6 separate regions of the Homo sapiens genome follow, and all the other regions are linked to region 1. The links are contacts of gene promoters, found by promoter capture Hi-C in blood cells and fetal thymus (Javierre and others, 2016). All regions are on one chromosome and are shown on one strand. The core of a region is centred on a gene start or on the middle of the fragment in contact, and the rest is flanking DNA. Distances in the headings are between cores, read along the strand shown. Region 1 holds the start of MBOAT7 (membrane bound acylglycerophosphatidylinositol O-acyltransferase MBOAT7). Region 2 holds the start of SDHAF1 (succinate dehydrogenase complex assembly factor 1). Region 3 holds the start of ZNF428 (zinc finger protein 428). Region 4 holds the start of PAF1 (PAF1 component of Paf1/RNA polymerase II complex). Region 5 holds the start of NFKBID (NFKB inhibitor delta). Region 6 holds the start of DEDD2 (death effector domain containing 2).

Evidence for each region. The method cuts DNA at HindIII sites, captures the fragments that hold promoters and counts their contacts. A CHiCAGO score of 5 or more calls a contact.
Region 2: a contact is called between the fragment with the promoter of SDHAF1 here and a fragment that was not itself captured in region 1, in 1 of 17 cell types (fetal thymus). The highest score is 5.6, in fetal thymus.
Region 3: the fragment with the promoter of ZNF428 here is called in contact with a fragment that was not itself captured in region 1 in 1 of 17 cell types (activated CD4 T cells); the score reaches 18.3 in activated CD4 T cells.
Region 4: a contact is called between the fragment with the promoter of PAF1 here and a fragment that was not itself captured in region 1, in 3 of 17 cell types (fetal thymus, total B cells and naive CD4 T cells). The highest score is 18.2, in fetal thymus.
Region 5: a contact is called between the fragment with the promoter of NFKBID here and a fragment that was not itself captured in region 1, in 1 of 17 cell types (fetal thymus). The highest score is 6.6, in fetal thymus.
Region 6: the fragment with the promoter of DEDD2 here is called in contact with a fragment that was not itself captured in region 1 in 1 of 17 cell types (activated CD4 T cells); the score reaches 9.2 in activated CD4 T cells.

The regions. Positions count from the first base shown.
Region 1 is chr19:54,189,565-54,192,704 of GRCh38, reverse strand. MBOAT7 (membrane bound acylglycerophosphatidylinositol O-acyltransferase MBOAT7) reads left to right here and starts at 3,125. Exons shown (of 8, transcript NM_024298.5): 1 at 3,125-3,140. TSEN34 (tRNA splicing endonuclease subunit 34) reads right to left here and starts at 1,397. Exons shown (of 4, transcript NM_001077446.4): 1 at 1,098-1,397; 2 at 741-984; 3 at 332-589. The coding sequence starts at 1,340. RefSeq lists enhancers at 1-461, 2,430-3,111, 3,112-3,140 and a silencer at 1,306-1,507. The HindIII fragment of the contact is 1,746 bases long and covers 1,018-2,763 here.
Region 2 is chr19:35,993,429-35,996,524 of GRCh38, reverse strand. It overlaps SDHAF1 (succinate dehydrogenase complex assembly factor 1), which reads right to left and starts at 1,337. Exons shown (of 1, transcript NM_001042631.3): 1 at 213-1,337. The coding sequence starts at 1,250. The coding sequence ends at 903. RefSeq lists silencers at 881-1,000, 1,031-1,090 and enhancers at 1,151-1,230, 1,491-1,540, 1,875-2,374. The HindIII fragment of the contact is 4,511 bases long and covers 192-3,096 here.
Region 3 is chr19:43,617,891-43,620,947 of GRCh38, reverse strand. ZNF428 (zinc finger protein 428) reads left to right here and starts at 1,319. Exons shown (of 3, transcript NM_182498.4): 1 at 1,319-1,390. It overlaps LOC105372411 (a long non-coding RNA gene), which reads right to left and starts at 1,887. Exons shown (of 4, transcript XR_001753942.2): 1 at 1,316-1,887. RefSeq lists a silencer at 1,266-1,505 and an enhancer at 1,310-1,960. The HindIII fragment of the contact is 4,307 bases long and covers 1-3,057 here.
Region 4 is chr19:39,389,554-39,392,689 of GRCh38, reverse strand. It overlaps PAF1 (PAF1 component of Paf1/RNA polymerase II complex), which reads left to right and starts at 1,584. Exons shown (of 14, transcript NM_019088.4): 1 at 1,584-1,872; 2 at 2,401-2,430; 3 at 2,529-2,621; 4 at 2,929-3,050. The coding sequence starts at 1,826. It overlaps MED29 (mediator complex subunit 29), which reads right to left and starts at 1,312. Exons shown (of 4, transcript NM_017592.4): 1 at 1,052-1,312; 2 at 168-226. The coding sequence starts at 1,267. It also overlaps a transcript of SAMD4B not described here. RefSeq lists an enhancer at 968-1,257 and a silencer at 2,795-2,926. The HindIII fragment of the contact is 958 bases long and covers 1,248-2,205 here.
Region 5 is chr19:35,898,540-35,901,958 of GRCh38, reverse strand. NFKBID (NFKB inhibitor delta) reads left to right here and starts at 1,419. Exons shown (of 12, transcript NM_139239.5): 1 at 1,419-1,517; 2 at 3,137-3,240. The coding sequence starts at 1,457. RefSeq lists a silencer at 1,386-1,535 and enhancers at 1,435-1,990, 1,896-2,145, 1,991-2,547, 2,560-3,131, 3,132-3,419. The HindIII fragment of the contact is 4,662 bases long and covers 1-3,185 here.
Region 6 is chr19:42,215,984-42,219,119 of GRCh38, reverse strand. It overlaps DEDD2 (death effector domain containing 2), which reads left to right and starts at 1,443. Exons shown (of 5, transcript NM_133328.4): 1 at 1,443-1,488; 2 at 2,075-2,440. The coding sequence starts at 2,113. RefSeq lists enhancers at 1-207, 208-1,084 and silencers at 1,856-1,955, 1,966-2,025, 2,107-2,312. The HindIII fragment of the contact is 12,709 bases long and covers 1-3,136 here.

The DNA of each region.
Region 1 (3,140 bases), core at 641-3,140:
AAGTGAATCTTCTGGATCACAGTAATCATTTAATAAAAGTCGTTAAACTGCTTGCCCAATGAGTTCGGGAGCTCCCAAATGTTTCCTGTCTGTCTATGAATTTCAGAGGCTAAGAGAAAGTGAGACAAAAAAGAAAAATGCAGCTGGGCCTATAATTCCAGCACTTTGGGGGGCCGAGGTGGAAGGATTGCTTGAGCCCAGGAATAGGGACCAGCCTAAGCAACAAGAGACCCCACCTCTATTAAGACAAAAAAAAAAAAAAAGAAAAACGCAGAATACATTGGGATCGTATGGAAAGGCACAGCAACCAGAGGCCCCAACCCATACTCACCAGGATAGACCAGGAAGTCACCTCCGAACTTGCCAGCCGCACTGAGGAAGAAGCCTCGCTCCCACAGGTCTCTGTAGATACTGTAGCGCAGCTCGTGGGCAGGGCGGCCGGCGTGGGGCCAGTCTTTAGACTGGACACGCCAGTCCAGGGGCCTGGCCTTGACCGGTCGAGGCCTGGCAGTGGCCAGCTGGACAAGGAGAGCAGATCTGGGCAAGGGGGCTACCCCATTTGAGGGTCCTGCTTGGGAAGACGAGGGGCCTGGTGGGGAGTACAGAGAAGAGTTTGGTAAATTCAAGGGGTAAAGTCTTCTCACCCTCAGGGAGACCCAGGCACTGGATTCCCAGCTAAAATTCCTAAAAGATCTCTCCTCTCCTTCCCGTGGTCCCTGGACTCCACCTCCCATGCTCACCAGCTTCCTCCTGCTCTCCCGAAGCCTGGCCATCACTGGTCTCATCCTCTTTGGCAGCCTGGCTCGAGCCGGCCTCCTGGCTTGAGCTGGCCCCTGAAGCCTGTTCTAGTTTCTGCTTCTTAGCAGCCTGGCCCTCCGTAATCTTCTCCAGGAGCTCCTGACGACGGGTCTCCCGGGCCTCAGCTGCCAAGGCGCTCTGCTCCTGGAAGCTCTCCTCTTGCTGGCGCTTGAAGGATGTCAGGGCCTGAGAAGCACACTTCGCTGGAACCTCCAAGCTTATGGTCCCTTCAGAAGCCAGGAAACTTGACTCCCAGGTCCCGCTCCCACCGAACCCGAGTTCGAGCCCCGCCCCCTTACCAGGCTGTGGTGCCGAGAGTCTGGACGCGGGGCGCTGACCAGAGTCACGGCGCCGATCTCGGCCAAGAGCCGCGCCTCTTCGGGCATCAGCAGCAGCGGGAGGCCCAGGCGCGAGTTCTGGCGGGGCCCGCGGGGCAGGGCGCCTACCGTGCGGCCCCCCACACCCAGGCGCTCCCGGAGGGCCTGCACCGCCTCGGCTCCCCACACCAGGGAGCGGCCGTTCGCCACCTCCACCACCAGCATCCTCCTGCGGGAGCCGGGAGGCAAAGCAGTTACCGAAACAGCTGCGCGCCGCGGACCGCTGCAGCGCACCCAAAGCCTCCGGGGTCTCGGCGAAGCCCCGCCCCTAGGCCTCAGGGGGCGGGGCCTCGCTCAGCCGCCGTTCACCACCTGCTGGGCCCGAGCGCCAGGCCCCGCCCCCGGGCGATCCCACCAGGCCTCGCGGCCGCCGGAGACGAGACGCCGGAGACAAGCCCCCGACCCTCTCCCCTCGCCAAGCCCCCAGGGTCCCGCTCTACCCTTGTGACCCTGCGGTCGGCACCCGCTCTGTGCCCGCACTGCCGTACCTACCATTGCGCCTTGGAGCGTGAAAAACAAACCTCCGCAAGCGCGGCGACACGCCCCCTTACAAAGGTCCATTTTGGCACCACCCTCTTGCAAAGTGGGCGTCCCCCTTCGGGTGTTCCCGTCAGCGGTCAGAAGCTCTGGAGGCTAAGGCACCGCCGAGGCCACACCCTCTTCCGGACGCTCGAGCCTTCGCTCCTCCTCTTTCCGAACGACTGTGATTCGGCTTTCGGACCTCCTCGCTCTCAGACTCCCACAGTACAAAACCCTGCCCCCTCCCGAGCACAGGAAGTTCGGCGTTCGGGCGTCCTCGGCTCCACCGAATCCGCAGCCCCGCCCCCTTCTCGAACGCCAGCAATTTGACGTTCGGGTGTTCTCGGCTCGGCCGAATCCGTAGCCCCGCCTCCTCCCGGACGCAATAGGTTCGGCGTTCGGGCGTCATCGGCTCCCGGCAGCCTCGCGGCCTGTGGCCCCGCCCCCTCCGAGCGCCAGCGCACCCCAGTTGGGGAGTTCCCGCCCTACGACCGAACCCCACAGCCGAAAGCCCCGCCCCCTGGACACCCGCCGTCCACTCTCCGCTCGGGCGGGCTCACCCCAATTGGGAGCGCTCAGTCCGCCTCCTTGCCTCCCTTCAGAATGTCCCACTGTCCACCGATAGAACCAGCGAGTCACCTCATAAACAGTAATTCGCAGTCGAGGTGGAGCCACCCACTGCGCACCGCGCCACGCGCTCCTTGCTCCACCCCCTCATGCCGACACCCTCGTCAACTTCGTCATCCCGCCCCATCAGCGCCGCGGGAAGTCAGGTCCCGCCCCTCGCAGGACCGAAGCCCCGCCCTCCTCCCGCGGGGGCCACCTTGGCTCCGCCCCACTGAGCGCACCTCCCTCTGCCGCTTCCTCTCCTCTACTTGGGAACTTGAGGATCGTCATCCTGGCCCGGTCCCGTAGGCGCACGCCGGCCCTCGGGGTTCCGCCCCTTTGAGGGCAAGTCGCTTTCGCCCCGCCCCCTTGTAAATACTCATGGGTGTCTGGCGAACCTGTTGACTCCGCCTATCATCCTAGCGTCACTTGTACCCAACTATCTACGAAGTAAACCGAAGCTTGTGGCCCCACCCACATCCGGCCGAGTCTGTGGCCCCGCCCACATCGGAACAGTGACCCTAAGGACTCGACTACCTCCGAAGAAAGCCGAAACATGTGGCTCCGCCCACAGTGGCCTCAGCTCTCCGTTCTCGACTATTGCCGAAGTGAGCCGAAGTTTGTGGCCCCGCTTCCGGAGAACTCAAGCTCCCGATTGTGCCCGAAGGAACCCGAAGGGAGACCCCGCCTCATTCCTCACGCCGAGCTCCAGACCCCGCCTCCTTTCCAGAGCCCGTCTGTTCCCCTTCGGGTCCAAAGCTTTTGGCTCCTCCTTGTTCCGAGCCCGAAGGCCCGCCCCTTCACGTACTCGGAGCTCGGATCCCAGTGTGGACCTGGACT
Region 2 (3,096 bases), core at 88-2,587, about 18 Mb after region 1:
CCCTCCACAGATCTGCCCAGGGGAGAAAACTATGCCGCTTCAATCAATGTGCCAGTCTACAGGGCTCCGGAAGGAGTCAGATCCCCACACCTATCACCTCCCAGATGGTCCCTTCCAGGTGTCTGTGTGCGTGTGTGTGTGGTGGCAGGGGGGCTGGGGGTGTTTCAAAAATCCTGAAATATATAAAAGCTTTAAGACCACCAACAGGGAAGTAGACATATCCCCAATTTTATTCCCTTTGTCCAACATTCCGAGAGGGAAGGGGCAAATGAGTCAATGTTGCCCCTCAAAACCATCAAGTAGGGGCCTTTGGGGGTCTTCAGTTGATCAACCAGGGTGATAGACCCCTACCCCTTCCTCATGGTCCTGGCTTGTCACAATTAATGGGGGAAAGTTTTCCAGAAGGGGATTCCGGGCTTCTCACCGCTCATCAGGGCACCTTCCCAAAACGTTCTCAGCAAAAAGTCTGCACTTCTCAGAGTTAAATACAGGAGAGGGGAGACTCCTTGAGGAGCCAGAAGTGGGTATGTTCTCAGGGGTCAAGAGAAGGGCGTCTCAGGCTCTCCCTGTCCACCGGGGGTCGTCCTGGCTCCCCGTACCTTCGGGCAAGTAGCTCTTGGCTTGACACTGTCCAGCCCGCCAGCGTCCCAGGCCGCCCCAAGCCCTCATGGGGGAGGAGCACCGACCTGTCTCCAAGCATCGGAAAAGGCGGGCCTCCCTTGCCGTCCATCACGGGGCTCTCTAGGCCCCCTGCGTCGCCAAGGAGGAGTCTCTGACATCCCCAATTCGTCAAGCTAGTCTCTTAAGACCTCTCACCTTAGGCGGGTTCCCCAGTCCCCCCATGCAGTCAGGCGAGCCTCCTGGCTCCACCACGCCATCGAGCGAGTTCGGCTCTTCGCCTGTCACCGTCCGTCGGGGCGGGTCTCCGGTGCCCCCGTGCTGTCGTGGGGGTTCCTTGGACTGTCGCCGTCGTCAGGCTGGCAACCCACGCCGCCAGGCTCCCCGGTCGGGGCCCGCGGGCGTACGAAGGCGCCCATGGCGGTGGCGTGGCCCGAGCGTAGCAGCTGCAGCTGGCGCCGCCCGCGGCGGTACAGGTACTCGATGCGCAGCACGTCGGACCGCGGCAGGCCCGCATGCTGCCGGAACTCTGCCCGCACTCGCGCCTCGGCGCCCGGCTTCCCACGCCCGGCGCGCAGCAGATCGCGGTACAGGCTCAGAACCTGCCTCTGCAGCCGGCTGTGCCGGCTCATGACCGCGGCTAAGCAGAGACGCTCAGCGAACGACCTGCGAACCGCGGAGCCGCCACACAGCCAGCAAAGGCCAAAGGGCAAAGCCACAGCCACTTCCGCCCAGCGCTTCCCTTGGCCTCCAACTCCCGCCTCCCGCCATCCGGCGCTGCCGCGTCTGACTGGCTGTCGTTGCAGTTACGTAACAGCCGGCTGGGAGAAGTGGGCGGAGTCGCTGGTCGCGGCCTCCCACGTAGGGGACGTGTGTTCTTGAGGGGACAGCAGTTCTGGGGATCCTGGCACCGCCTGGAGGGCGTTATGTGTTCGGACTCCTAGGTCTTGGGTTGGAGGGAACAGAGGGTCCTCACCTAACTCCTGCATTCTGGGAGAAGAGGAAGCTAGGGGTTTTTTTGTGTGTGACGGGGTCTCGCTGTCGCCCAGGCTGGAGTGCAGTGGCGCGATCTTGGCTCACTGCAGCCTCGAACTCCTGGGCCCAAGCGATCCTCCCACCTCAACTCCCCTAGTAGCTGGAACCACAGACGCGCGCAACCGCGCCCGCTATTTATTTATTTATTTATTTATTTATTTATTTATTTATTATTATTATTATTTGCAGAGATGGGTCTCCCTATGTTGCCCAGAATGGCTCGAACTCCTGGGCTCAAACGATTCTCAGCCTCCCAAAGTGTTGGGATTCCAGGCGTGAGCCACCGCGCCCGGCTACCGGTTCGGACTTTGGGTCCCAAGGGCACGGGGCACTGGGAGAGACGCCGGGCACAAGCGTGCTTTTGCCGTCAGTTACTGATTCAAACCATCTTGGGAAGCTCCGTGCGTTCCCTCGTCCGGGGCAGGTCTGTGTCTGGGGTCCCAGCCCTGGGCACGTGCAGAGGGACGAGACCCCGTAGGGAAATGGCTCTCGGCCGGTTGGACAGGCTTCTCGGGCCAGGGGAAGACAAGCAGAGAGAGTGTGGGCGCCAAGCCCCCAGAGGCAGCGTGTGGCTCTAGGAGCTGGGTTGGTCGCGCCCTCTGCGGGTGGGAGTCGGGGCAGTGGACAGCGGTGTTTGGGTCCTTACCGACTGTTAAAGCCCGGAGTCCGGGACACCCTGAACAGTCGACTAGACTGCAACCCCGTTGTCCTCCCAGGAGCTTTAGGTGGTAGGCCGCAATGCCGTTGTTGTCCCCGCGGGCCGCCTGGAGGTGTCCTCGTAGCGCTAGGGAGGCCCGCAAGGACACAGCATCCTCGGGCCCCACCAGCACCGGAGCTTGGGGGACCCCTCCACCCAGCGCGCAACCGCGGCTCTGCACACTTGGGCCGGCAACCAGCTGGGGGGTCCATTCCCCTTCAGAGAGGAGAAGCTGGTCAGGGGCGGGGATTAGGCTTGGAGTCTTGGAGTCAGGGGAGAATCACAAACCACTGTGAATCCTGCCTGGCAGGTGTATGTATCTATCAAAAATACATGTCCTAGAACGGTGGCTCACACCTGTAATTCCAGCACTTTTGGAGGCCGAGGCGGGCGGACCACCTGAGGTCGGGAGATCGACACCAGCCTGATCCACATGGTGAAACTTCTGCCTCTAGGTTCAAGTGATTCTCCCTACCTCAGCCTCCCCAGTAGCTGGAATTACAGGTATGTGCCAGCACACTGGGCTAATTTTTGTATTTTTAGTAGAGGCGGGGTTTCACCATATTGGTGAAACTACAGCCTTGATCTCCTGGGATCAAGCAATCCTCTCGCCTCAACATGTCCAGTGGTTAGGATTACGTGAACATCCCACCACACCCGGCTAATTCTTCTTTTATTGTTTTTTGTAGAGACAGAGTCTCGCTGTGTTGCCCAGGCTTCACTCTGGAATTTTAAATATTTATTTT
Region 3 (3,057 bases), core at 70-2,569, about 11 Mb after region 1:
AGGAAAAGCCTCTCAGATTGACATCTGTACCAAGATATGAATGGTGAGCACAAGAGTAGGTATTCAAAGGTCAGAGGGAAAAGCATTTTCAGGCGGAGGGAACGGCAAGAGCAGAGGCCCGAGCTGGTAAAGAGTTTGGGGTAAGGTGGAGCTGGACAGAAATGGAGGGAGGAGGAAGTAGGTGGGGTCAGAAAGATAAGCACGGCCAGACCAGGTGTATAGCCCTGAGGCCATGATAAAGATTTTTGGATTTTTTTTTTTTCCTAATGGGATCCCTTTGGGGGAGTTTTAAGCCAGAATGTGACAAAGTCACTTACAGGAAGACTGGAATGTAGCCATAGTTGAACTCTAACATCGTCTATAGAACCATTTCCCGTCTCCAGTTAGGTTCTAGGCATACTAAGCTGCTCTTGCTTCCTCAATCAAAACATGCGCTTCTATTTTTTTTTTTTTTTTTTTGGCCTCTGGGCCTTGGCGCTTGCAGTTCATTCTGCCAGACCCATTCCCATTCTAGTTGGCTCCTATTCGTACTTGGCTTAAGGATCACCACCTCCTGGAAGTCTTTCTAGAACCAGAGGCCGGGGCAAGCGCCTCTTAGGCTCCCACAGCCCCCTGTGTTCCTCACTCCAGGTCTGACCTTCTGGGTAGTAGTTGTCTAATTAGGTGCGTATCTCCTTCGACTGGGGTGCCGTGAGTACAGGAGTATGGTTCACTGCAGAAACCACAGAATCCGCCAGCATGGGGCCTGACACCTAGGAGATCAATAAACCTTTATCCTGGTTGGGAGGGGTCCTGGCCCTCGTGCCCTCTCTCAGGATGCAAACTGATCCCCTACGAAGACAAGGCTACCCACTTCGCGTCAGTCTGCAGTCCCTGCGCGCATGCGCTTTGCTCAGGTTGCCCCCGCCATATGCTAATCACTGCGCTCTGGAGTAAGGCCCCTCCGGGGAATATGCAAATCACTCCTTCCAGTGCGGGAGGCCTTTCATTGTCCCGCGCTAGGATTATGCAAATAAGCAGGCCTCGGGCCCAGGATCCAGTCCGAACTAGCGCCCTCCACCCCCAGCGCATCCCAGTTTTGTAAGGCGCGTTCCTGCCCCGCACACGCACGCGCGAACCCTTCAGCTTCTTGTTCCTTTGGGCCGCGGGCTGTACCAAGTAAACCCAGGCAGCGAGGGGCAAAGCACGGCGCCCCCCGCGCGGGTCTCGTCGACGGCCCGACGCGCATAGCCCCTCTTCCCACAGCGCTACAGGACTAGTCCGTCTCGCCGCGCAAGCGCCCTAGGCTCTTCACGCCCCCTGCGCGCTGTCCTACCCTACTTGCGACGCAGGCGCAGAGGCTGGGCGTGCAGCCGCCGCCGCAGAGCCGGAGCGGGGGCCGCCGGCGCCGGTGAGTGTCCCGGGCAGGGGTGCGCGAGGCATGCCGGGAAGCGGGCGCTACGGCCCCGCTGCATGATGGGAGCGACGACTCCCGTCACCGGGGAGCCGGCGGTCTGGGGCCGTGGTGACCCGAGGGCTTCTTTTTCTCCCCCTACGCGTTTGTGCCGCCCTGGGGCATCCTGGGAGAACCGAGCGCTCCGCCTTGAAGCGCTGTGGGAGTCGGTCCGCTAGTCGTAGGCCTGGTGCATCCTGGGAAAGAGTGTCCCAGATCCTTGTCGAGACCGGTTCCTTTTATCCCACACCTGCCGCTGACCGTCCTGGAGGCTTGGAGCGCTTCCACACGGGGAGTCTGGGAAGGTGGTCGCTATAGGCCTAAGGCATCCTGGGAAGAACTGCCACAACGAATTGTGGGAACTGGCCGTTATTGTCCCGTAGTGGAAGGTTTTGCCCTGGTCTCTTTGCTCGAGCATTGGAACGGGTGCCTATTGTGTTCACGCGGGGCATCTTGGGAATTGACTGCTATAGGCCCAGGGCATTGTGGGGTCTCCAGCACTGTGTTTGCCTTTCAGTTTGGCTGCCATAGGCGTGGTAGGAGTGGGACTTGTGAACCAAGGGATGGCCCTACCTGACGTCTGGAATACTCTGGAAGGGGCCTTGTGTGACGTGGGCTTGGAAAAGTGTAGGCTGATGGGCATTGTCTCCTGGTAACTTCAGGGAATGTCTTGATTGTCCCAGGTGTGTGGTTGCCGTATAAAATATACAATGTCTAGTTAAATTTGAATTTCAGATAAACAATTATATCCAAAAGATACAACCTTTTAGAAAAGTATGTCCCAAATATCACATGGAACATAGCTATATTAATTCTTTGGGCTAGTTGCAGTGATACCAATACTTTGGGAGGCTAAGGCAGGAGGATCGCTTGAGACCAGGAGTTCAAGACCAGCCTGGGCAATATAGTGAGACCCCCGTCTCTACAAAAAAAAAAAAAAAAAAAAAAAGTAAAAATTAAGCCTGGCATGGTGGCGCATACCTGTAGTCCCAGCTGCTCTCCTAGGGGCTAGTAGGGTACCTTGAGCACAGGAGTTTGAGGTTACAGTGAGCTAACCTCCCAACCTGGTTATGGGGGAGTACATGAGTTAAGGCCTGGAAGCCCCTTTCCTACAGATCACCCTACTGCACTCCAGCCTGGGCAACTGAGCGAGACCCTGTCTCTTAAAAAATATAAATAAGTAGGCTGGGCGCGGTGGCTCACGCCTGTAATCCCAGCACTTTGGGAGGCCGAGGCGGGTGGATCACGAGGTCAGGAGATCGAGATCATCCTGGCTAACACGGTGAAACCCCATCTCTACTAAAAATACAAAAAATAGTCGGGCGTGGTGGCAGGCGCCTGTAGTCCCAGCTACTCGGAAGGCTGAGGCAGGAGAATGGCGTGAACCCAGGAGGCGGAGCTTGCAGTGAGCCGAGATCGTGCCACTGCACTCCAGCCTGGGCGACAGAGCAAGACTCCGTCTCAAAAAAAAAAAAAAAAAAAAAAAAAAAGCCGGGCATGGTGGCACGCGCCTGTAGTCCCAGCTACTTGGGAGGCTGGGGCAGGATAATCGCTTGAACCCAGGAGGCAGAGGTTGCAGTGAGCCGAGATCGCGCTACTGCGCTCCAACCTGGGCGACAGAGTGA
Region 4 (3,136 bases), core at 335-2,834, about 15 Mb after region 1:
GTGCCACTGTAGTCCAGCCTGGGTGACAGAGGGAGACCCTGTCTCAAAAAAAAAAAAAAAAAAAAGTAAATATAGAAGGTGAGGTGGGCGGGGAGCAGGAGAAGGAAAGATGAATTTCAAAGACTGGGAAGGCAATAGAATATCCTGGTAAAGGGGGCTGCACTCACTGTCCATTGTCGATGTTAGTGTTCTGAATCAAGTTTTGGGCCGCAACCTTCATCAAGGTCTAGTCAAAACAAAAACAAAACACGTGGGAAATGGAAAAACAAAAGGGAATACCTCTGGCAGATCTACACTCTTTCTTGAGATCACTCAGTCTCAGGTTTTCTTTTCAACTGGCACCTTCCCTCCTGACTTTCCAAAGTAATATTCGTTTCCATTCCTATAGCTGTCACCACTCCATCCTCCCAGAGGCCCGCTCTCACCTGAGCTTCTCGCCAATAACCTAAGGGTCCTCCCTCACCTATCAATCAAGGGCAGAATCTCCGTATAAGCCAGTACTCTCCTCAGGCTTTAACGACCAGAGCCCAGTTTCTCCTTTAAACAACCCCTCACTCAAGCTCCGGCCAGTCCCAGCCTCAGCATCAGCGCTGATCCCATCTCTGCCGAGCTTCGCTTAGGTCTCGCAGAAAACAACAGTTTTATTTATTTATTTATTTATTTTTTTGACGGAGTCTCGCTCTGTTGCCCAGGCTGGAGTGCAATGGCACGATGTCGGCTCACTGCAACCTCCGCCTCCTGGGTTCAAGCGATTCTCCTGCCTCAGCTTCCCGAGTAGCTGTAATTACAGGCGCGCGCCACCATGCCCGGCTAATTTTTGTATTTTTAGTAGAGACGAGGTTTCACCAGGCTGGTCTTGAACTCCTGACCTCAAGTGATCCGCCCGCCTCGGCCTCCCAAAGTGCTGGGAACACAGGCGTGCACCAGCCAGGCCAAAACAGCAGGTTCTATTCCTCTTTCTGCTTAGCGCTCTCTCCGACTAACCTGGCCCTCGGCCTGCCCCTCTAGACTACCAAATCCAGTTTGCTTCTCGCTGCTTAAGGCCAATCACCTGTAGACTCTCCTTCAGCTGCGGGATGAGCATCTTATAACGCTGCACAGGATCGAAGTCCTGTTGCTGTTGCTGCAGGAGGCCGCTCTGGGCAGGGCCCACCAGTTGTGCTGGCGGTTGCGGCTGCTGCTGGGGACCCGGGCCGCCAGCCGAACTAGGACCCGATACACCAGCAGCTGAGGAAGCCGCTGAAGCTTGCTGCTGGGATGCAGCCATCTTCCTCGCGTAGACCGCCGGAAGTGCGTTACGACTGCGTCTCTCCCCGTTGCTTTTCAGCATCCCTATTTCTAGTCCCCGTTTGCTAGTTAGTCCCGCCCCCTAGGCAATTAAGCCAATGGAGGGGAAGGAGGTGCCCCAACGTTACGTCACTCTCAAATCTGCGTCCAGACTGAGATATCTCTCCACCAATCACAGAAGCACCTCTCTCCCTCGCTCCGCCCTTCACCCAGACGCTCGCCAATCCGTGTGTGGTTCCGAGCCGGACTTCATTTCCCCGAAGGCGTCGCGGCCTGAGGAGACCCGTTGGGTCCTCAGCGTCTTGGCGGCAGTTGGTGGAACCGGAGCTTCGAGTCCGTCCCCGGTGCTGCCTGCGCGTTCACCTGAGTCTCGCTGGAGCTCTTCTCGCCCGCCCACCTCATCTCAACCCACTTTCCGCGGGGAGCGGCGCCAAGCTGGGCCTTCCTCGGATCAGGCGTCCCCTGAAGTCGGCACGCCCCTCTGCGTCCCCCTTCGGTCCCGCTAGGACCCCGTCCGGGCTGCCGTCGCCTCGTCGCTATGGCGCCCACCATCCAGACCCAGGCCCAGCGGGAGGATGGCCACAGGTAGGCGCCACGCTTTTCTGTTGCAGCAAGGCGGGGGATCGGGAGAGGGTTTCTGCTGAACAACGTCACCAGCCCCCAGGTCTGCCCGTGACGTCATGAAGCGCTCACCTTTGACGAAGGGGGCGGGTTCCTTCTGAGATTCAGGTGTTCCCCTCCTCCCCGCCGTGCAGTTCAGGGATTAGGCTTTTGGAGACTCCCTCCAGAAGGGATCCCTCCAGTCAACCGTTTGGAGACCCCTCTTCCGAAGACGATTGAGTACATGGTTCTTTATTAAAGCACTTGAAGCCATCTCCTGCAAAAGGGATTGAGCACTTGGCCTTGTTCATTAAAGCTTTTGGGGGCATTTCTTCCTAAATAAATTGAACATTTGTCTCCTTCCATTAAAGCATTTGGACACTCCCCACACCACCACCCAAAGAAACCAGCATTTGTCACCCCTCCTACCTTTTGAAAGGTTGGGGAAGCCTTTTTCATTCTCCTGTCAATCCCGTCCTCTCCACCTATCACTGTTTCTTTCTTCTCCACTAGGCCCAATTCCCACCGGACTCTGCCTGAGAGGTGAGCCCCACTGTGCTTTCCCAGGAGCGGTGGGGCAGTGGGGCTGGGAGCAGAGGTGGGGCAGCGGGGGCCCACTTTTGAGCCACTAATGTTCCTAGGTCTGGAGTGGTCTGCCGAGTCAAGTACTGCAATAGCCTCCCTGATATCCCCTTCGACCCCAAGTTCATCACCTACCCCTTCGACCAGAACAGGTGAGACTAAGGAATGGGAAAACTACTCAGGTATGAGTTCCTTGAAGGCAGGGACTGCTTGTCTCGTTGGCTGCTGTCTGCTCAGGGCCTAGCACAGTACCTACCCTAGCACATAGTAGTAGCTGCTCAATTGTTAATGGAGCAAGCAGTGTCCAAGTCCCTTCCCACTGGGGAGCCAGCTTTCAGACTCTGCCATGGGGGACACTTCATTCTGAGTTCCTCCCCAGAGAAGCTCCGCCTCTGGGAAGCAGGGCTGTGAGGGGTGAAGCTGGAATCCAAACACCACAATAGGTGTTTCCCCACCCAGGTTCGTCCAGTACAAAGCCACTTCCTTGGAGAAACAGCACAAACATGACCTCCTGACTGAGCCAGACCTGGGGGTCACCATCGATCTCATCAATCCTGACACCTACCGCATCGACCCCAATGGTGTGTGGGGAGACAGGGAGGGTCTGCTCTAGGTCAGCAAAGGCTCAGGCCTGGGCCTCCCTCATGGTCCTCCTGCCCCCCGCTCT
Region 5 (3,419 bases), core at 170-2,669, about 18 Mb after region 1:
CAACACACACTGAATGGGGGAAGAGGAGGAACTTTGCCAGGGAAATGGAGAAAGAGGGAGGGGACCCCTGAGAGCATGGCATCTTGAAAGCAGGGGAGAGGCCACCGCAGTGGCTCATGCCTGTAATCCCAGCACTTTGGGAGGCCAAGGTGGGGGGATCACCTGAGATCAGGAGTTCAAGCCAATATGGTGAAACCCCGTCTCTACAAAAATACAAAAATTACCCGGGCATGGTGTCAGGCTCCTGTAATCCCAGCTACTTGGGAGACTGAGGCAAGTGGAGGTTGCAGTGAGCCGAGATCTCACCACTTTGCCACTGCACTCCAGCCTGGGCGACAGAATGAGACCCTCTCTCTAACAATAAAAATGTAATAATAAAATAAAATAGAAAAGCAAGCAAGCAGGGGAGAAATAGGGCCAACATGGTCAGTGCTGTGAAAGGTCACCAAGTGAAACTGAGAGTGGCCTCCCACTGGAATGCCAGCTCCAGGGCTGGGAATTCCTGCCTGCTTAGTTCACAATACACAGCAAAATGCCTCCTCTGCTGCAATAAATTATTTTAAATGATGAATGAGTAAATGAAACCAGACCTCTAAAAAGGGTGATGTAGGGGAGAGGGAGAAATTGAGCCACACCCTATACCCTTACCCACAGACCCTTCCTCTGGGAGTCTAGACCCCCAGTCCTGCCTCCCTCTGGACCCAGTAATATTCTCCCTGCCCCCACCCCATCTCCATCCCCACTCCTACCCCTACCCCCATGGGCAGGACCCAGGAGACAAAGCCTCCAGCACCCCCTTAGACACAGACCCAGAAATCCAGGCCCCAGCCAGGCACCATGGCTCAAGCCTGTAATCCCAGCACTTTGGGAGGCCAAGGCAGGCGGGTCACCTGAGGCCAGGAGTTCGAGACCAGCCTGGCCAACACGGTGAAACCCCATCTCTCCTAAAAATACAAAAATTAGCCAGGCATGGTGTCCAGCACCTGTAGTGTCAGCTACTCGGGAGGCTGAGGCAGGAGAATCGCTTTAATTCAGGAGGCGGAGTTTGCAGAGATCGCACCATTGCACTCCAGCCTGGGCGACAGAGACTCCTTCTCAAAAACAACAACAAAAAAAAAAAAAAAAAAAAAAGAAAAGAAAAAAAAGAAAAAGAAAAGAAAAGAAATCCAGGCCCCCCGGTTTCTCCCTCCTCTTGGAGCCCGGTGCCCTAGGCTCCTTCAGAGCAAAGATCTGGACCCCAGCTCCCTCCTTCCCGGGGGGACTGAGTAGTCCGCCTCCCAAGTCCGCCGCGCCCATTCAGGGACTGCGTTCGCCGGAGCGCGACCCGGGGACTCCCAGGCCTGTGGGCGGGCCCTGCCCAGGACTGGGCGGTGCCATAACCCCTAGTTTAAAAACTCGCGGGTACCGGACCCAAGATCGGGGACCCGGCGGCGGCTCCGCGGGGGAAACAGCGAGGCTGGCGCAGCGCCGAGGCCGCGGCCCTGGGGGCCCGCAATCCACGCCACGGAATCCCCGAGGTAATGGGCGCGGGCAGGACGCGTTCGGCCCCCTAAGAGAGTGAGGGACTGAGGATCGAAAGACTCCCGAGGCCCTGAGGGACGGAGCTGAAGCGTCAGTCCTTTATCCCGAGAGTGAGGGCCCTAGGTGTTTGGAGGAGGAGGGGATCGTGGATCGTGACAGAGGGGCGGCTGGGATCCCAGACTTCTGGGTCCTGGGGGTGCAGGGGCCTGGGGATCCAGGATCGCAGGGCCCCGAGGGTGCAAGGGCTGGGAGGCTTGGGAGGCTGGATCTCTGGGTCCTTGGAGGTGCTAGGGGTTGCTGGCAACCGAGACTCCTACCCCTAGAAGCAGGGACTAGGCTGAGTGCGGGGGGGGGGGGGGGGGGCGTGGTTGCTTAAAATCGGCGTGGGTCTCGGTGGGGAAGGGTCCGGAGCCTGGCCTCAGGGTCTACGCTGGCGGTGACCCTGCCTCTGCCCCGCCCTGGGATTTCCGGATGGCCACCCGTGCGGGGCTGAGCAGGAATTCCCCTTGCGCGGGGATTCCACGAGCGCCACGATCGGCCGCGCGCCCCGCCTCGGAGCAGGACACCTGGGGCACAGGACTTGGGGGGAAGGGGAGGATGGAAGATTCCCTTGCGTGAGCGCCGTGGCGTCAGCGCGCCGCGTCGGGGCTGTTTCCGAGCCACCTCCTCCCGCCCCCGCCCCGCGCAATCCCCACTTAACCCTTCCTCCGCCGGAACCCAGGCTCGGAAGGGTGAGGGTTCTGTCTTTCTGAGTCGTGGGAAGGAGTTTGGGAACTGGGGCTCCCAGGTCCTAGAGAGGAAGGAACTGAGGGTCCAGATTCCTGGGGCCTGAAAAAGAGACTGTATGGATGGGCCTTTTTTTTTTTTTTTTTTTTTTTTTAATGGAGTCTCTCTCTGTCGCCCAGGCTGGAGTGCAGTAGCGCGATCTCCGCTTACTGCAACCTCAACCTCCGCCTCCCGGGTTCAAGTGTTTCCCCTGCCTCACCTGGGATATACAGCCGCCTGCCACCACGCCCGGCTAATTTTTATATTTTTAGTAGAGACGGGGTTTCACCATGTTGGCCACCTGACCTCAGGTGATCCGCCCCCCTTGGCCTCTCAAAGTGTTGGGATTACAGGCGTGAGCCACCGCTCCCGGCCCGGGGTGAGGCCTTTGACTTCTCGAGGAGGGGCGCTGGGGACTCCTGATTTCCGGGTCAGGTTCTAGGGAAAAAAATGTTGGGAACCTGGATGTGAGTCTAGGGAGTGACGCCTGGCGCCGGCCCCCCACCAACCCGCTGACTTCAAAACTTGGATATCTGGGGGTGGAATTTTTTTACGGAAGTGGGGTGGTTGCTGCAGAGGGGTGCCCTCCTCCCCCTTCCTCACTTTCCGCGACGGTGGTGGAAAGTTGGGTCAGAGGGAAAGTGCGGAGCAAAAGGAAGGAAACGGCGGAGGCGGATGCCCCACCCCAAATCTTCTAATGGCTTTGGAGGAGTCAGGCGGCATCTATGTGCCAGTTTTTCCGCGCGGGAGGGCGAGGAGGGTGCCCAAACCCACTCCCCGCGCGCCACCCCCGCGGCATTTAGGTGACTTAAGGACCCTTGATGACTTCCCCCTCTCCTCTCCCGCACAGTGAGCAGGGGTGAGCGCAGCCACTGCCCAACGCAAACCGTGAAGAAGCTTCTGGAAGAGCAGAGGCGCCGCCAGCAGCAGCAGCCCGACGCTGGCGGGGTGCAGGTGAGGCCAGGGAGCCACAGCTCTCCGGAGGCCCCGTGCTGTCCCGTAGGGACTCAGCGGCTTGCCGGGCCCTCGGGGCTGATGAGAGGGGTGGTCCTGACCGAAATGTCTTATAGATCCGAGACAGACCCGGAGGAATCTGCCAGATAAAGTCACCTGGGTTCCTTTTTGCTTTTGTC
Region 6 (3,136 bases), core at 194-2,693, about 12 Mb after region 1:
TTGGTCAGACTGGTCTCGAACTCCCGACCTCAGGTGATCCGCCCGCCTCGGCCTCCCAAAGTGCTGGGAATGCAGGCGTGAGCCACCGCACCTGGCGTTTGTTTGTTTCTTGAGACAAAGTCTCGCCCTGTGGCCCAGGCTGGAGTGCAGTGGCACTATCTCTGCTTACTGCTCCCTGGTTCAAGAGATTCTCTTGTCTCAGCCTCCCAAGTAGTTGGGATTTCAGGCGCGTGCCACCACATCCGGCTAAGAACAGACAGGGTTTCATCATGTTGGCCAGGCTGGTCTCGAACTCCTGGCCTCGTGTGATCCGCCCACCTCGGCTTCTCAAAGTGCTGGGATTACAGACGTGAGCTACCGCGCGCAGCCGATTCTTTTGAATTCACTGCTACAGCTCAGGCAGAGCCAGTACTGGGCCAGTGCTAGGCAGGACCCAGATCTCCCGACTCCCAAGAGGAGTTAATTGCGGGGGTGGGAAGAGGTCCAGGGAGGGGACTTGTCTCAAGTACATGCAGGTCCTGACCTTGAGTCACCTAAGTGGGGGGCGTGGCGACCGTCACACCCAAGGCCCCGCGGTAAGGGGACACGCATACACCACAGCCTAGACTCCCTGACAGACCCTCTCTAGTTGTTGCAAGTTAGGGAGCGGGTATCTGGGCGACCCTGGAGGGCAGAGATTGGAAGGGGTTACGGAGGGGCCGTTTTGGCTCTGGGTGGAGACATCTGACTGTGATGGGGGTCGTGATGGACGCCATCGAGATGTACACAGTCGGAATGGAGGGTTCTGTTGCCGCTTGGAAGGAGGTATCCGTCCTGAACGTGAGATGAGGGAATTCTGGTTTTGATCAGGGGAAGGAACTTATAGACTGCGGGGGTGGTGGTGGGGGGGCGGGATTTCCATTTGGGATCACGAGAGAGCACAGTTGAGATGTAGATCCCTGGTTGTCACTAGAAGTGAGGGACAATCTAATGGAGGAGTGCCCAGGACCAGATCATATAAGGCCTGGGAGTTTACTGGGAGACGGGAAAGTAGTGATTGTGTTACTTTGCCACGGGCAACTAGGGGCAGTGGTGATGTGGGCGTCTAGCTCGTGATCAGGAGGGGGCTGTAGTTTATGAGATGAGTAGTTACAACTACTCGTGACGTGGCGCTACATGGCCCCGGTGGCTTGAGTCACGGGCAGGAAGTAGGGACCTGGAACCGGGTACCAGATACAGCCCAAGAGGCGGCGTGCTCTCGCTCTGCGCAAGCGCAGCACTCGCGAACCAAGATGCTTCGGTTGGGGGCAGGTCAAGCGGCCCAGGAAGGGCGGGGCTTGGAGGCCTCGTTCTGCGCATGCGCCGAAGGGGCGTGGCGGTCGCACCTGCGCGAGTTGGGGGAAGGAGGAGGGGCGAGGTGACGCAGGCGTAATAATAGAGAAGGTGCCAGAAAGATCCAAAACAAGTGGCTGCGGCCGTCGCCCAGGAGTCATCGGACGCCAGAATCTGGTGAGGATCCAGAGAGGCCTAATGGTGACTGGTGGCGGGTAGACAGGACCACCTGGGCTCTGGGGAGCGGGCGGGGCCGCCCTTGCAGGGCGAGGGGGTCGGGTTCGGACGGTACCACCTGTGTGGAGCAAAGGGGCTGCCTGGGTCGCTCCTCTGTGTAGGGGGCAGAGGGTCACTTTCGGGAGGTACCACTTGCGTAGAGCCGGGGGACTCATCAGACGGTACCGCTGGACGGAGAAAAGGGGCTCGTCTGGGCAGTCCTACCCAGAGTCAGGGGCAGTCAGCAGGGAGCCCCGGGGTGGGCCCCGAGGCTTGTTTGGGCCGCATCGTTTGGTCAGGTCCGGAGGCGAGCTCCGAACGTAGCACGGTGGTGGGGGCAGAAGCCGAGCGGGCTCCGGCGTCCCGACCTGTTCTTAGGGGACCTCGGGCGGGACCATTCCCTCCCGGGGGAGGGGGAGGCCGAGGCGGTTGGGGGTGCGGGAGCGGCCCTGCCCGGCGCGATTGGGCGGGGGAGACGCGCTGGCGGTGTGGGGTTCGGGCCTCCGCGTCGCTGACCACTGCCCCCTCCCCGCTGTGTGGGTTCTAGGCCGGGTTCTGAGCTTGTTCCGCCTCCCTCCCCCGGGAATGGCGCTATCCGGGTCGACCCCGGCCCCGTGCTGGGAGGAGGATGAGTGCCTGGACTACTACGGGATGCTGTCGCTTCACCGTATGTTCGAGGTGGTGGGCGGGCAACTGACCGAGTGCGAGCTGGAGCTCCTGGCCTTTCTGCTGGATGAGGCTCCTGGCGCCGCCGGAGGCTTAGCCCGGGCCCGCAGCGGCCTAGAGCTCCTGCTGGAGCTGGAGCGCCGCGGGCAGTGCGACGAGAGCAACCTGCGGCTGCTGGGGCAACTCCTGCGCGTGCTGGCCCGCCACGACCTGCTGCCGCACCTGGCGCGCAAGCGGCGCCGGCCAGGTACGGTTGAATGGGAGGGTGTCACACTTCCTGGGAGGAAAGGGCCTGGCTCCCGCTGGGCCTCCCTGGTGCCCTGATACGGACAGTGCCATATCAGGCAGCTTATGTCCCATTCTGCTACTCTCTCTTCCCACAATATCAATGAGCAACATAAGAGGAAGAAAGCATGGCTTTGGGAATTTGGCCACATCAGTGATGATGATTTTGGCCACTGTTTACGGAGGGCTTGTTTCATGCCAGGCACAGCTGTCAGCCCTTCATATGAACTAGTGCCTTATAGTCTCCCAGTAATCTCACAAGGAAGTCCTGTTACTGTCTTCACTGTAACCAAGAAAATAACAAGTTCAGAGAAGTTAAGCAGTTTGCACGTATAATAACAATCCTGTTTGCTGGGCCTAGGAGGGATACAGGATGATGGAGCTGACAAGGTGTTTGTTCCATGAAGTTTAAGTTTAGTGGGGGCAATCAGATAATAAGAGAACTTATTTTTAGACGCTGTTGTAGGAAGACTAAAAGTAATGGAATAGAGAGAGTCAGGAGAGCAGCAAGGTGAAGGGAGGCTTTGCCCTGAGGCTGCACTGCCAGCCATGCATAGACCCCAGGGGAGAAAATCCCAGGGAGCATCCAAGGCCTGAGGTGGGAATGAGTTTGGCATCATCAGAGGCCAGTGTGGCAGGAGCAGAGGGGACCCAAGCT